3 separate regions of the Homo sapiens genome follow, and regions 2 and 3 are each linked to region 1. Evidence: promoter capture Hi-C in human tissues and cell types (Jung and others, 2019). All regions are on one chromosome and are shown on one strand. Each heading gives the region's core, a stretch centred on a gene start or on the middle of the fragment in contact. The rest is flanking DNA. Distances are from core to core; before and after follow the strand shown.

Region 1 (5,103 bases), core at 1,726-4,225:
ATTAAGTTCTTATCATTGACCAAACACTGTGGGCAAATGTTAGCTTGTTAGGCATTATCTCTTTCGATTCTCCCAAAACCTAAAAGGTCCTAGTATCAGCTCCATTTTACAGATGGGCAAACTGAAGGCAAAGAGAGGCCTAGCAACTTTCCTGAGATCCTACAGAGTTTTGAACCCAGGTATTAGTGATCCCAGTGCTCACACTTGTGTTTTGGTCAACAACTAACCACATACACTACAATGGTCCCGTAAGATTATAAAGAAGCTGAAAAATTCCTATCGCCTAGTGATGTCATAGCCATAGTAACATAACACATTACCTTTCCAATGTTTAGATATATTTAGATACACAAATACCACTGTGCCACAACTGTCTACAGTATTGGGTATAGTAACACGCCTTGTAGCCTAGTAACATTATTTGTAGCCTAGGAGCAATAGACTATACCATATAGCTTAGGTAGTAGGTGTAGCAGGCTACACAACCTAGGTTTGTGTAACTACACTCCATGATGTTTGCACAATGAAAATGCCTAAGGACACATTTCTAACAAGGTATCCCAGTCGTAGTCCTTAAGCATGGACTGCATGACTGTATATCGGTTGTTCAAGAGATGTTAAGACTTTCTGTAAAAGAAACTATTACTGCAAAGCAATTTCAAACCGTCTCAGATCGTAGTATCACATCTATTAATACAAAAGAGCCTTCAAATTTTCAAAAAGTCTCCTCAAAATTTCATTTTATTCGAAGTGAAAATGAATTAAATCAAAAAAGGAAATTCACTTCTAAAGCTCAGGTTATACACTTGAACTTCCCAGAAGCTAACATCACTGTCCTTACTTGTTTGTGCGCAGGTGAAACAGATCATTCTTTCATATCACTCCAAACTAATGTAGAAAACTGAAAGCTGGTTGAAAAGGATGAGTATGTGCTACTATCAGTTCATTCCAAACGATCTCACAATATATGCCTGACATAAATTTAATATTTTGTTTTATAATCATAAACTAGGCAAAAAGAACCACAGAACAGACGAAATAACTGAAATGAGTTACTGAAATGCAACTGGGGCTTTAATTTCCAAATCTATCTTATAACGGTCTTACTTGAAGAGTTTATCACAGAAGTAACTGTCCTCAAAAGTTACATAATTTGAGAAAAAAAGAGAGGGAAGGGGAGAGACAGAGAAAGACATGACACACATTAGGGATGTTTGTCAATAAAAATAAGCAACAAGGGAGGAAAGCCTGTAGCACATCCAAAAAACGTCTGCCAAACACTCTTGCTATTTGTTTCCACCAAGTTATTGTTTTGGAAAACATGTTGTTCTCTCTTAAAATAACCTGCTTAATTGTTCTAAAAAGCCACTGCATTTCCACAGAGGGCTAAATCATTCCCATACTGCGATGCATTGACTGATAAAGTCAAAGTAAGTTATGCATAAAGCCACAAATAACGTTTGAAAAACTCCAAACTCCTCCATGATAAAAGAACACTAGCTACTGAATGAATCTTCACCAGCGCCCTAAGTGAGACTAACGCCTGGTCCCGTACACGTATTTTAAGAATAACAGTCATTCAAACTAACTCATTTCTCTCTTTGGATGTGGGAAATGAGCCACATCGGTGGCTACAGGTAGGCTAGTAATTATCTGTTTTAAGAAAGGTCAAAATGACCTTGGACGTTTTGACGTTCACTCCAACACTCGTATTATAAATCAGAATCTGTTTTCGGTCCAGTATGGTTGAAGATTTTCTACCTGGGAAAGTCCCAAAGAAATTAAAGAGTTAAAAATAATTCTAAGTTGTGAAAGACAAAGTCAGACACCCATAGCATAGGAAGATTTTTATGGACTGAATGTAACTCAAGATGTGTTTTATAAGCCTGTCAAGAGATGAACACTGTCCTCAAACACAGCAGCACTGCCTCCACACTCCCCCCTCGCTTTGGCTGCTCACCCCGATCCTGGCCCTCCTTGACCACAGGGGTGGGGGCGGGAGCTCCTGTCTTAAGCCTTGACATCTGCAGAGCGTTTCCCAATAGTGAGACAAGGCCCCTCAGCTGGAGGAAGTGGATACTGACAAGGGGAGAGAGTGAAACAGACGGAGAGAGACAGAACTCGAGGCTGCCAGGGAATGGGGAGGGTCACGCATACTCTGTGCGGCCCGAGTGGTCCGGATGGCACAGCCCAGGTGTCCGGGCTAAAGTTGGCATCTCCAAAGTCCAGAACGCAACTTGGGCGCGCCAGTACAAACTCGGCCTTCGGCTTTTCTGAAGCCAGTCAAGTTCGCACAGGGCCCCCAGCGCCTGGAAATCTGAGAGGCGTGGAAGGGTGGGGAGTCCCGCGAAGTCTCCAGTCCCTGGGTGTCCTCCGGCTCCGCGGGGGAGCGGGCCTGGAGCTAAACCGGCCGGCCGTAGGCTGGAGTAGCGGGCGCCGGAGCGCGCGGTGGGGATGTCCGAAAAGGAGTTAGAGGCTCAGTCGGAGAGTCCGAGAACACGAGGGATGCCTACCTTGTAACATGGCCTCAAGTTTCTTCCTGTCCACGCGGAAGCGCTCCTCGCTCCACTCCGGGCTGTGCAGGGTCGCCCCGGCGACCAAGTCGTCCTCGGAGCCGGGCACTGGGGAGTCGGTGCTGCGCTCGCTGTTGGAGCCGGGGTCCGACTGCGCCGCCAGGTAGCCGGGCTCTCCCTGGGCGGCCATGGTGGGCGCGCAGCGCTCGGGCTCCCGCTGCCGCCGCCGCTCTGCCTGCGCTGCCGCCTCCGCTCGCCGGCCGGGCTCAACTGGCTCCCAGCGCCGCGGCGCTAGCTCGTCCCCCTGCAGCCGCCGACGCCACCGCCAACGCCGCCGCCGCCACTGAGCCCCCGGCGCATCCCAGCCCCGGGCGCCGCCCACGCCACCCGCCACCCCGGGTCGCGGCCCCGGTCCGGGTCCAGTGGCTGCGCCGCCCCCCGCCAGCAACGCCCGCGCGGAATGAGCGCGCCGCGCTGCCCGCGCCTCCATCCGCAGGGCTCGGCGCCCCCTCCCCGCCCGCCGCCCCTACAGCCGCGCGCTCATTGGCCCGGCCAGCCCACGGGGAGCCGCGGCGGGCGGGCGGCCCCTGGCGCTCACACACTCGCGCGCGCACACACACACCACGTACACACTGCCACTTTCTGCACTTACACGTATAAATCCTTTCCATACATGCACTTTCATAGCTCCTCAAACACACACACTCCTGAACGCACATGGAGTATCCACGTAATTCCTGTCTACACACACACATCACACACACTACTACTTTTCTGCACTTACACATACAAATCTCTTCCCCCTACATGCTCTCATAATCCTCCAAACACACAAACACAAACACGCCAAGTTCAAGCACAGCAGAGTCCTGAACGCACACTAAGCGCATACACAATTCCGCTGTTTACATACATACCCTACACCCTGAAACTCACAGCCCCAGTTGGTTCCACAAGCTCGAACGTGAGGAAGAGGAAAAAGAAGGCTTGGAGAAGAAATCATGCCCGTCTTTCGCAGGCATCGCCATGGACGTGGCTCGCATGTAGTTCATACCTCCAGGAAGGGCTCAAACCCAGACACCTCGTCTCCTCCCAGCAAAGTGGCCCGCTGCACGAGAGGTGGACAAGAGGCTTACTCTTTTTATTCTGAGAAAGGGAATTTTTTTTTTTCTTGAATGGAGTAAGGAAGGAATTGTTTTCTCTGTGATTCTCAAGGAATGGACTCAGCAGACTTTTTTTTTTTTTTAAGTAGAAAAGGGGCTCGGAGATCGCTGTGTTGGCGAGCTGGATCCAGCTGGCACGTGGGCAGGGCTGTCTTGTCAGGGACTGAGGGCTTTTCTCTGTTTTCAAGGTCAGTCTCTGACAGATGACGGCCAGTAACCTCTGAGCCTCACTGCCGAGGGCCAGCCCACCCACGGCCTCTGTCAAGCTTGGATATGAAGCGCGGGGGAAGAGGAGACTCGCTCGTACTGGGTGTGCCCTTGGAACTCTGTTTTCCCAGTTCACACAGATTCATAGCCTATTATTTTATGACCCAAAGTACAAAGACTTGCGGGGAGGAATGATGGGGATAGCAGTTTGTCACTGCGCCACAGAAGGAGGCTGCCTGGCTCACATGTAGGAAGAGCCATATCACTGGCACAGGCCTCTGGATAATCATGGAATATGCTGAAGGTAAATCAAAATTATTTCAGGTTCAGCTGCCTAGTTAACAGGAATTGACCCTGTGATGGGTACAGATGAGGAAACTGAGACCGTGGGAAATAAAGTAACTTGACTAAGGTTGTCCAGCAGCAGATAATACAGCCAATTAATCAGACCCAGGTCTGTGGGTCTTTATATAAAGTCTTACCTTTTTGAGCGGAGACCCCTCCTGCCCAGAGTCACCTCCTGAAGAACTGAGAGCATCTGCACACTTAACTGCTCTGATTCACCACCATGTGTTCCTTTTATAAACTTGTTAATTACTGTTAATTTCTATCCAAGGCACTAGTTTCAGCACCCAAAGGGTTTATGTAGGAGCATTCCCACTGTTTTCCATCAGGGACATTTACTGTGTTTTTCTATCAACAAATATTTATTGGGACCCTACTATGTACTTGGCACTGTTAAGCCCAAGGAATAGTAAGCAAAGACAGACACATCCCTGTACTCCCTCCTGGAGCTGAAATTCTAATGAGAAGGAATACTGACCAAAAAATAAATCACAAATATAAAATCATGCCCGCAGTAAGCATTACAAACAAGAGACTCAAGATATGAGAAAACCTATGATAGAGTAATTGGATTCAGTCAGAGAGGTCAGTGAAGGCTTCTCGAAACAGTGACTCTAACTCAGAACAGACGTTGGAAGAGAAGTTAACTAGGCAAGGGAAGGAAGAGCCATCCCTGCAAATGATCATCTGATCATAGTAACATCCCTGAAGGTAGATACTACAATTATCCTCATTTTAGAGTTGAGGAAACTGAGGCACAAAAGGTAAAATGACTTGCTCAAGGTTGCACGACTAAGTTGAAGAATAAGAATTTGAACCCAGGCAGTCTCTTGAAAATTAGGCTTCAGGTGCTTTATGCTTAGCCAATAAGTTAT
Region 2 (5,103 bases), core at 852-3,351, 60 kb after region 1:
AGCACATGCCAACTCCTTGGTGATGGGTTTGTCTACCTACAATTTAAGGACAATTACAGTGTATTCTTTTCAGAAGTTATTATTGGTTATTGAGTCATTTCCTAGTGGAAGTGGTTTTTTTCTTCTAGGTCCTCTGGATTCATCATGAGGTATTTGCTAGCTATCTCTTTGCACACAGCAAAATGTGTGCCTGTGATAGAGTATGACTTTTTAGAATGTTCACTAGGCTGGAGTTCAAGACTCAACTTTGTCACTTCCTAGTTCTCTGGGAGGCAGTATCTATGAAGGAGGAAATTAGCCAGCTAGCATTTGAATCCTAGCTATTCGTGAACTGGATGACTTCTAGCTGATATCAAACCCTTGCTGAGTCTCATTTTTCCCATTTGCAAAGTGAGAATGATAATGTCTGCCTGGTAGGGTTTTCTGTGAGTAGTAAATGAGGTACATGTCTAGTACAGTGCTTATTATATTATAATGGGCATTCAACAAAGGCGACATCCATACCAGCCCTTAAGGCACTAATGACCCCAAAAGGGTTGAAATACTCACATGCCCATGGGGTCCAGCACAAAACTGAAGTGAATGAGAATAAGTAAAACAACACTGCAACTGTGAAGGTACAAGGCAACTAAGAGTTGGCCTCAACATTGGAAAGAAAATAGGGAGTACTTATGGCAAACTGAGGAGGGTGTGTTTTATCTAACACACCCACCACACCAGCCCACTGGTGCCCCAATAAGGACAAACACGTATTGACAGATCTTCTGGTATTTCAAACGAAGCCAGAAATCAGACTTTTAGGTAAAGTCTCTCAATTTTTAAATATTGGCTCACTGAAAAACAAACACATACACAAACAAACTTGGATCCCAAACAAAATATTCCTATAGGCTTAATCCAGCCTACTGATGGGGAGGCTCTGCTCAATCACATTCACTTGACATCACTTAAATCTCGAGCTCATATTGCTCCCTAGCTCTTTTATATTACTATGTAATTTTCAGCGCTCAAGCTCTGTCTCCAATTACATCTGTTAAGCCACTTGAATAAGATATTTGAGAGCAGGAATAGTGTCTTGCTCAGGAAATATCCACAGCTGGTAAACTCTCCTTTGGGTGATATCCTTTAAGATCTTAAAATGGGTTGCTTCCCTCCAGAAGAACATGTTGACTTCTTTTTGCCTTGAAATGGGAATACAACAGCTGGCTGCCTCTGGGAGGTTGAAAATAAACAGGTTCAGAAGCTCTGAGAACAGCAAATGGGCGTTGTAGGTGGAGAAACAGCCCAAAATAAATACAGCTGTTGAGGTGGAAAATTCTATTTACTTTGGCTGTTTCGAGGTCTACACTGAGGAAGGGAGAGTTGCTATTCCTGAGACTCTCCATATACTGACAATGGGGGACCCACTCGGGGCTGGTCCCCAGTGCAGGACACATTCATACTCATCATTTCAGTGCATACTTGATGATGAGCACATCAACTGGGTATCTCAAATGAGGGAGGACATTTGTTAAAAATGAAAATGATGAGTGAAGGGCTCTGTACTGGATGGCCTATATTAATGTCTTCCCTGGCTTGGATTGTAACTCACATTGAACATTCCTTAACAATCAGGTTTTGTTTGCTACATAGACCTAACAGAAAAGACGCTAGCTCGGGAGGCAAAAAATCCAGCCTCTAGCATCAGTTTGCTAACTAGTTGTATGACCTTGATGAATCATTGCAATATTCTGGGCTTCCATTTGCTCAAACATAAAGTGAGAGATTGAGAGAGAAAATCTCTAGGGAGTCCGTGAGAAGAGTGGAAAGGGTACGGGATGAAGACCAGAAGGTTTTCATTTATGCCCTGACTCTGATAACTCTCTCCAGTGTGACCTTGGATGGCAAAACACATAATCTGTAAATCTCTGTCTTTACCTATGCCAGGCAGGACTAAGCACAGCCCTCTTCCCAGTATTGCAACTGTGAATGAGAAAATAAAATTTATGTGAAAGTGCTTTTCAAATGGATGTGTGAGTGGCTCATGCCTGTAATCCCAGCACTTTGCAAGGCTGAGGTGAGCGGATCACCTGAGGTCTGGAGTTCGAGACCAGCCTGGCCAACATGGTTAAACTCCATCTCTACCAAAAAAAAAAAAAAAAAAAAAGTTAGCCTAGCATAGTGAGTGGCATGCACCTGTAATCCTAGCTACTTGGAAGGCAGAGGTGGGAGAATTGCTTGAACCTGGGCGGCGGAAGTTGCTGTGAGCCTTCAGTGAGCCAAGATTGTACCACTGCGTTCCAGCCTGGGTGACAGAATGAGACCCTGTCTCAAAATAAATAAATAAATAAACAAACAAAAATCAAATGGATGTGTGAGCATATTGATATCAGACAGATCTAGTTTTCAATTCTGACTGTTACCAATTCTGTGTGCTTATGGGCAGGTGAGTTAAGTTCTGTAAGCATCATTTTCCCGATAATTACAAAATGAAAGTAATATCTACTTCATAGGATTGCTGAGATGACTAAAGTAAGTTAAATAATGTAAAAAAAAAATGTACTAGAGCAGGGACAGGCACAGAGTGCTATAAATAGTAATTACTAGTGCTAGTAAAAACACAAATGATATTGATATAAAATCTCCATCTCAAAAGCCTTATTCTGATCAGCTAAATCTTAAACTTTTTTTTACAATTTGATCTGAACCAAAATTATTTTTCTCCCTTTACAAGAAAAATCATTACAAAACAAAAACAGTGATCCAGTTTAAGTTGAGAATGAACTTAGTTGTTTTCTGAAGTCCACAAGAGAACAGAGCCAAAACATTCAAACATTCTGACCCAAGCTTAGCGTGCTTGCTACACTGAGGTAAAACATTAATGGGAAAGTCTCCTTCAGCCAGGAAATATCACCTTCCCTTTTTCAGAAGGGAGCCCATGGAAATGCTTGGGTTTATAGTGGTGGAGGAAACAAAACCAAAAATCTCAGACAGATACTGTTGCAGATTGTGTTCTCAGGGCAGCATTCCAGACTTCCGTAGAACCCAGCTCACAGGAGTAAACTCTTTGTCTTAATGGCTCTCCAGACCTTGCCAGTATCAGAGGGGACACTTGAAATCATACTGCATCCAGATGGCAAGAAACATCTTAAAACTCTCATCACAAGACAAGTGAATTAATCATTCATTTAATCATTGATTTACATATTCAAAACACAGCTATTACTGGTCTAATATGCCTAGCCACAGTACTAGCTCCTGGAGCTACAAAGCAAAGTCCTTTCTCTCAGTAATTATCTGAAATTCAAAGATTCTCACACATATCACTCTGGGGCTTTACAATGTCAGAGCTCTTGTGACTAAATATCAATATACATAAAACAATATTAAATGTTTCTACTTTTCACCATGGATATCTTACAGCTAAAGAGATACCCCCCATAGAAGAGAAAGACTATATACATAAACATGTTTGTGGTACATTATTTATAGTTGTAATAATATAAATGTACAACAAGTTGAATAATAGTTTAAAAGTTTGGGGTGTATGAAATGATGGAATACTATGTAAGACATTTAAAAGGACATAATTACAGATATCAGCATGATGAAAATTGCTCATTCATGCGAGATGATAGAAATAATGCAAAATTATGATGTATCGAAGACCTTCAAACTTGTGTGTGGTTGTAGCTATAAAACATATACATTTGTTTCTAAATAAGGCCTGGAAGATAAAACATTTTTAGTTATATAAAGATAGTGGAATTTTTGATAATTTTTTTCTATTTTCTAGACTTTCTATATTATTACATGTGTCAGCGAAGTAAGATGTTGACACCTGCTGTGATTTGAGTGATGGGAGAAAATGTTTCTTATCCTTATAAGTATCTCTTTCAATCTGTACACAGGGGTTATCAAGTTTTTCTTGTTTTTTCATTTTGTTTTGTTTTTTGAGACAAGGTCTCTCTCTTTCACCCTGGCTGAAGTGCAGTGGCGCAGTCACAGCTCACTGAAGACTCGAACTCCCGGGCTCAAGTGATTCTCCTGCCTTGGCCTTCCAAGTAGCTCGGACTACAGGCATGTGCCACTACACCCAACTAATTTTTTTATTTTTTGTAGAAATAGGGTTTCATTATGTTACCCAGGCTAGTCTCAAACTCCTGGGCTCAAGTGATCTTCTCACCTCAGCCTCCCAAAGTGCTGGGATTATAGGCATGAGCCACCCACACCTGGCCGGTTTATCAATTTTTAATTATCTTTCCAATCTGGTCCCTTTCTACATTCTCATTAATGTTGCTTTAGCTCAGCTTCTCATCTCACCTGATTCCTGCAGTAAGTAGCCTACTAACTCACCTCTGTCTTCATTTCCACACTTCCCAGTTGCTTCTCCCAACCACAAGCTTCTTATCCTCAAATGTTCAGTCCTGGTTTAAACAGCCTTCTCCAAACACACCAGACATGCATATGTATATTATGGTGGTACCTCAAATTGTTATGATCCCTGGCGGTACGGATTTATGGACAGCACAGAAAGGAAGCTGTTTAGCTTCCTTTCCTCTCTTCCACATATCCTCTCTTTGGTATGGCTAATTTGCAGTTCCTTCCATTTAGAAGGACCTGAGAGGTAGAAAAGTATACTGGATAAGACTTCAGCTTCTACACAAGAATAGCTAAGACACTGAAGAATTAAAATAAGGTAAGCGTTTGTCATGCAAGATCTAAGACTGATCAGAAGCTAAATAAATACAATAATCAGGTTATTTGCTCCCAGTAATGATTCAGTAGCTCCCATCAAACTAACTCTCCACATATAACCACAAAAAATCTAGGCAAAATATAAAAAACCAATTCCCTGGAACAACTGGAAAGCAACTAAAAGCAGGCAGAAGCTGGAGTGGGGGACCTGTACTTAGATGAAGGAAATGGAACTGGGTGAGTTATCTATTCTTTAATGGGTCTTTATTTGAGGGTAGGCATTAGTTGGCTAAATCTCAAATAGAAGTCTATAATCTTAGTGGCTTGAAATATCAAATAACAGAGTTTGGGAACCACCACAGCAGCTAAAAGTGAGGGGAGAAGTCCAGGAAAGGAGACAACCAGAAAGGAGAGTCACAAATTCTG
Region 3 (5,103 bases), core at 1,696-4,195, 40 kb after region 1:
CTTGAGGAAATGACTCACTGAACCCAGGAGAAAGAAAAACAGCCGAGAGATGGCAGGAGAAAATGAGGATAATATAGCCTTACTGTTAAAGTGAGGGTTAGAAATCCACAGGGACCCGGAAAGGAAACACTGAAATGGCTGAGTTACATTCCTGAAACTAGCATGCAATATTGTTTTATCAGGCTTACGGCTGTTTTGACCAAGAATGAAGCAGGAACAGATTTCTTCTTAACAGAAACATCATCTCATGTTCTTTACTGTCCCCAAAGTGTCTCCTCTGCTAGAGCCCTAAGGGGAAACCACAGCCATCTCTGTCTCTTCTATTCTTGAATCACAAAACTGGCTGTTCCTGACACAGATGCTGAGCTTGGTGTGACAAACAGATGTACTACACTGCAGCCACTAAAATCTGCTAACATCTGTACTGAACCTGTGGAAGAACTTTGAGCCATCAACTTTCCGGCTAAAAAGAGACCTGATTAGAAAATTCGGGAAATGTTTTCAAGCACGAATACAGTTGCTTTCACTTTTTAGGTCACTAGAAACAGAGACAAAACTATGAGGTAAGTGACTTTTGTCCTTGGTCTTTTCTAATCCACCTAACATATTATGACTACATTAACCTTCTTAATGCAAAGTTCTGATAATGTTACTCCTGAACTCACAAACATTCAAAAGTTAACACACAGTATTTGTAAAGCTGCTGTTAAAATAGGCATTGTTATATATTCCTGGTGGAAATATACATTGCTATAATCTCTAAGGAGAGAGTTTTGGTGACACCTACTGTATTAGTCACGGTCTCCAGAGGGACAGAACTAATAGGATGTATATATAAGAGCAAACGGTAGGCATATATATATATATATATATATATATATATACACACACACATATAGGAGTTTAAGTATTAACTTACACAATCACAAGGTCCCACTATATATATATATAAAGCAAATGGTAGGCATATATAAATATGGGAGTTTATTAAGTATTAACTTATACAATCATGTCACACAATAGGCTGTTGGCAAGTTTACAGAGCAAGGAGAGCCAGTCCTAGTCTCAAACTAAAGAACTTGGAGTCCAGTGTTCCAGGGAAGGAAGCATCCATCACGGGAGAAAGATGTAGGCTGGGAGGCTAGACCAGTCTCACCTCTTCACGTTTTTCTTCCTGCTTTATATTCGCTGGCAGCTGATTAGATGGTGCCCACCAGATTAAGGGTGGGTCTCCCTTTCCCAGCCCAGTGACTCAAATATTAAATCTCCTTTGGCAACACCCTCACAGACACACCCAGGATCAATACTTTGTATCCTTCAATCCAATCAAGTTGACCCTCAGTATTAACTATCATACCTGCCAAAATTACAAATGCATATACTTTTTGATCTAGGAATTTCTTCTACAGCCTTACTTGCATTTGTATGAAATAAAGCATATTTAAGACTATTTGTTGCCATATTATTAGTAAGAATAACAGATTATATATACTTCTGCTCCTAGGTAGAATGTAGTAGGTCAAAGCAGGTCAAAGGTCTTGCTGCAGCAACTAGTAACAAATTAATACATTGAAAGAAACATGTTAAAGTTATAAAAGAGCTATAGAGGACCACATGATGTCTAGGTACAGAAGGACGCTGGGCACAGTGACTCATGCCTGTAATCCCAGCACTTGCAGAGGCCAAAGTGGGTGTATCACTAGAGCCCAGGAGTTAAAGACCAGTCATGGCAAAACCCCATCTCTACTAAAAATACAAAGATTAGCCACCTGTAATCCCAGTCACTCAGGTGGCTGAGGAATGAGAATCACTTGAACTCAGGAGGCGGAGGTTACAGTGAGCCAAGATCGCACCTCTGCACTCCAGCCTGGGCGACAGAGCAAGGCTCTGTCTCAAAAAGACTAAAAAAGGAAAAAATTTTCTTAAAGCTGAGAAGAAATAGACACTCCAGGCTCTCAATCAAAAGCTTGGAAAGACTATATCTAAAAAGCAGGGATAAACCAGGGGTGGACAGAATCTTGCTAAAATTGTAAATGCAGCCCTACTTCAACTCAGTTCCCATTGAAATGAGGTAATTAGCTCCTGGTCCTAACAAAAAAGAAAAAAAAAAGATACCTCTCTGGTGGAAGATACCATCAGAAGTCTACAGTTATTTTATACCAATGCCCAGCATGCAATCAAAATTTACTGCACATTAAAACAATCAGGATAGGTAATAATAATCAAAAAATAAAATAAATACAAGCCCAAAGAGAATTGAGATGAGAAAAAGCACAATAAAATAACCATGGCATGTTAAAAAAAAGTTTCAAAAAGCATGTTAAAAAAAAGTGAAAATTATATTTTAACAGATAATTGGGCTCTATCAAATTTTTAAATGGGTATTTTAGAACTGAAAAGTATAATGTTTGGATTTGAGAACTAATTAGGTAGGTTTAAAAGCAAACTGGATATAGATGATAGGATTAGTTAATTTAAAGACGGATCAATAGAAACTATTCAAATTGGATCACAGAGAAAAACCAAACTGGAAAGAAAGAGTATGTCCAAATGTGGAACATACTCCAACAGTTTAATAAAGTGTAATAGAGTCTCAAAGGAGAGAAAGGAGAGAGAATGGAGCAGAAGCAATATTTGAAAACACACAACTGAGAAATTTCTAATAGTAATGGAAGATATAAACCCACCAATTCCAGAAGTTCAAGAGTCCCTAAGCAGAATAAGTACAATGCCAACAGTAACACCAACAAACCCACCATACCTGGACACATTGTAGAAATTGTTGAAAAAGAATGACAAGTTCTAAAGCAACCAGAGCTGGGGAAAGCCCAAGTCTTCAGGGGAACTACAATAAGACTGACAGCTAACTTCAAACAAAACAAAACAAAACAAAAAACAAAAAAAAACACTGTGTGGCAGCCACGGAATTGCACCCCTCAGATCTCCCTTCAAGAGATCATGCTGTGGGGCGCTCATCTTATTGACAGCTGCTGCACTGTTAGATCCACTAAAACTTTCATATCAAATCATACTTCCCCTGGGCTGCTTCCAGTCAATGAATTAGCTCAATGGGGGTATGAAAATCAGGCTATATTGGTAGATGCAGAATTTCTTTAACAGGCAATTTGGCTCAGGAGATCTCTACTGACCTGGCCATGAATTTAACAGACCCGTCGATAGTCTGAGGCTCTTCTGGCCTAATCCTTCCTCACCTGTCTTCTTTCACAGGTGCTGGACCTGTCTTGGTGTCTGAAGGTTCTCCCTGCCTACTCCTCTCCTTCTTTTTTTATCCTTTACAGGCATTTCCCCCGAACAAATTTCTTATATTTTTAATCCTATCTTGGTGTCTGCTTCTCATGGAACCCAAAATGACACACTGTGGAAATCAGGAGACGATGTCATGATATTTTTAAAATGAAAAAACAAAAAGGCAAACAAGACCTCTCAACCTAGAATTATACACCAGTAAGAATATTTCCTTCAAATTAAAATAGAATTTGTTGCTAGCTGCACAGCATTGAAGTAAGTACTAAAGGGAGTTCTACCAGCAGAAGGGAAATTTTCTGAGCTAGAAACACAGAAAATTAGAAGGAAATGAAAAACACCGAAAAGACTATAAATCAGTGAATAAATATAAAAGAATACTAACTATTTAAAGCAACAAGGCACAGTGGCTCATGACTGTAATCCCAGAACTTTGGGAGGCTGAGAAGGTAGGTTCGTTTGAGCCCAGAGTTTGATTGCAGCCTAAGCAACATGATGAATCCCTGTCTCTAGGAAAGATACTAAAAAATTAGCCAGGCATGGTGGAGTGTACCTGTAGTCCCAGGTACTTGAGAGGCTGAGGAGGCTGAGGAGGCAGGAGGTCAAGGCTGCAATGAGCTGTGATTGAGCCACTGTACTCCAGCCTGGGCAACACAGCAAGACTCTGTCTCGAAACTACAAATAAACAAATAAAGCAACAACAATAGCATCTTTTGGAGCTTAGAACATGTAACATAGTGTAAAATATGTGACAATAGCAAAAAAGGTAAGAGAAAGGGGCAAATGGAGTCAAGTTATAAGATTCTTACATTCTATGTAGAATTAGATTACTAGTTAAGGTAGACTGTAACTAGTTAAGGATGCATGTTGAAATCGCTAGGGCAATGGTTCTCAACCTGGAGCAATTTCACTCAAGAGGCATTTGACAAAAGAAATTTCACTAAAGAGGCATTTGATAAAAGAGAGAAGGAAAGGAAAGGAAAGGAAGAAAAGAGAAAGAAAGATGAAGGGAGGTAAGAAGGAAGGAAAGAGGGACATATATTTGGCAATATCTGAAGACATTTTTGGTTGTCACAATTATGGGTTGGAGGAGATGTCAAAATTATTCTGCATTGAAACACTAACTAAAAGATGGATATTCTCAGAGTGGATTGAAAAACATGACCCAACTATATGCTGTCTCTAAGAAACTTACTTCAAGCATAATGATATAGGTAGGTTAAAAATAAAGGATACGAAAACATATTCAATGTAAATCTTTAACAAAAGAAAGCTAGAGCGGCTGTATTAATATCAGAGAAAGAAGAATGAAGAGCAAAATAATTTACCAAGGATAAAGAGGGACACTATATAATGATAAAAGGGTTATTTCACCAAGAAGATACAATAAATCCGAAGTATGTTTGCTCCTTACAATAGAACTTCAAGTTGCATGAAACTAAAAGTAGAAGCAGACAAATCCCTCATTATAATAAAAGGCTTCAACTCTCCCTTCTCAGTAATTGATAGAACTAATAAAAAATCAGCAAGGATATTAATAAACTGTAAAACACTATCAACTGACTGGATCTAATTGAAATTTTTAGAACATTCCAGGACCAATAGCAGAATATATATTTTTTTCAAGTGCACATGGAACATTCACCAAGATAGACAGTATCCTGAGTTATAAAATAAAGTTTAACACATTTAAAAGAATTGAAATGATACAAGGTTTATTCTCTGACTATACTAGAATTAAACTAGAAACTGATGATAGAAAGATAACAGGAAATCTCAAAAACTTGACAACACACTTCTAAATAATCCATGCATTAAAGAAGTCTCAAGGGAAATTAG

The links. The method cuts DNA at HindIII sites, captures the fragments that hold promoters and counts their contacts. A contact is called where the count stands out against the background at its distance.
Region 2: a fragment that was not itself captured here is called in contact with the fragment with the promoter of BICC1 in region 1 in 1 of the 25 tissues and cell types used here (mesendoderm cells).
Region 3: a contact is called between a fragment that was not itself captured here and the fragment with the promoter of BICC1 in region 1, in 1 of the 25 tissues and cell types used here (IMR-90 fibroblasts).

The regions. Positions count from the first base shown.
Region 1 is chr10:58,510,744-58,515,846 of GRCh38, reverse strand. BICC1 (BicC family RNA binding protein 1) reads right to left here and starts at 2,975. Exons shown (of 21, transcript NM_001080512.3): 1 at 2,514-2,975. The coding sequence starts at 2,703. LOC124902427 (a long non-coding RNA gene) reads left to right here and starts at 3,795. Exons shown (of 2, transcript XR_007062147.1): 1 at 3,795-4,187. The HindIII fragment of the contact is 7,114 bases long and covers 1-5,103 here.
Region 2 is chr10:58,449,467-58,454,569 of GRCh38, reverse strand. All of the region lies in intron 1 of LOC105378316 (a long non-coding RNA gene), which reads right to left. Among named protein-coding and RNA genes, the nearest start is that of BICC1, 61 kb to the left of the region's middle. The HindIII fragment of the contact is 7,097 bases long and covers 1-5,103 here.
Region 3 is chr10:58,470,736-58,475,838 of GRCh38, reverse strand. The region is part of intron 3 of LOC105378316 (a long non-coding RNA gene); the gene reads right to left. Among named protein-coding and RNA genes, the nearest start is that of BICC1, 40 kb to the left of the region's middle. The HindIII fragment of the contact is 5,137 bases long and covers 377-5,103 here.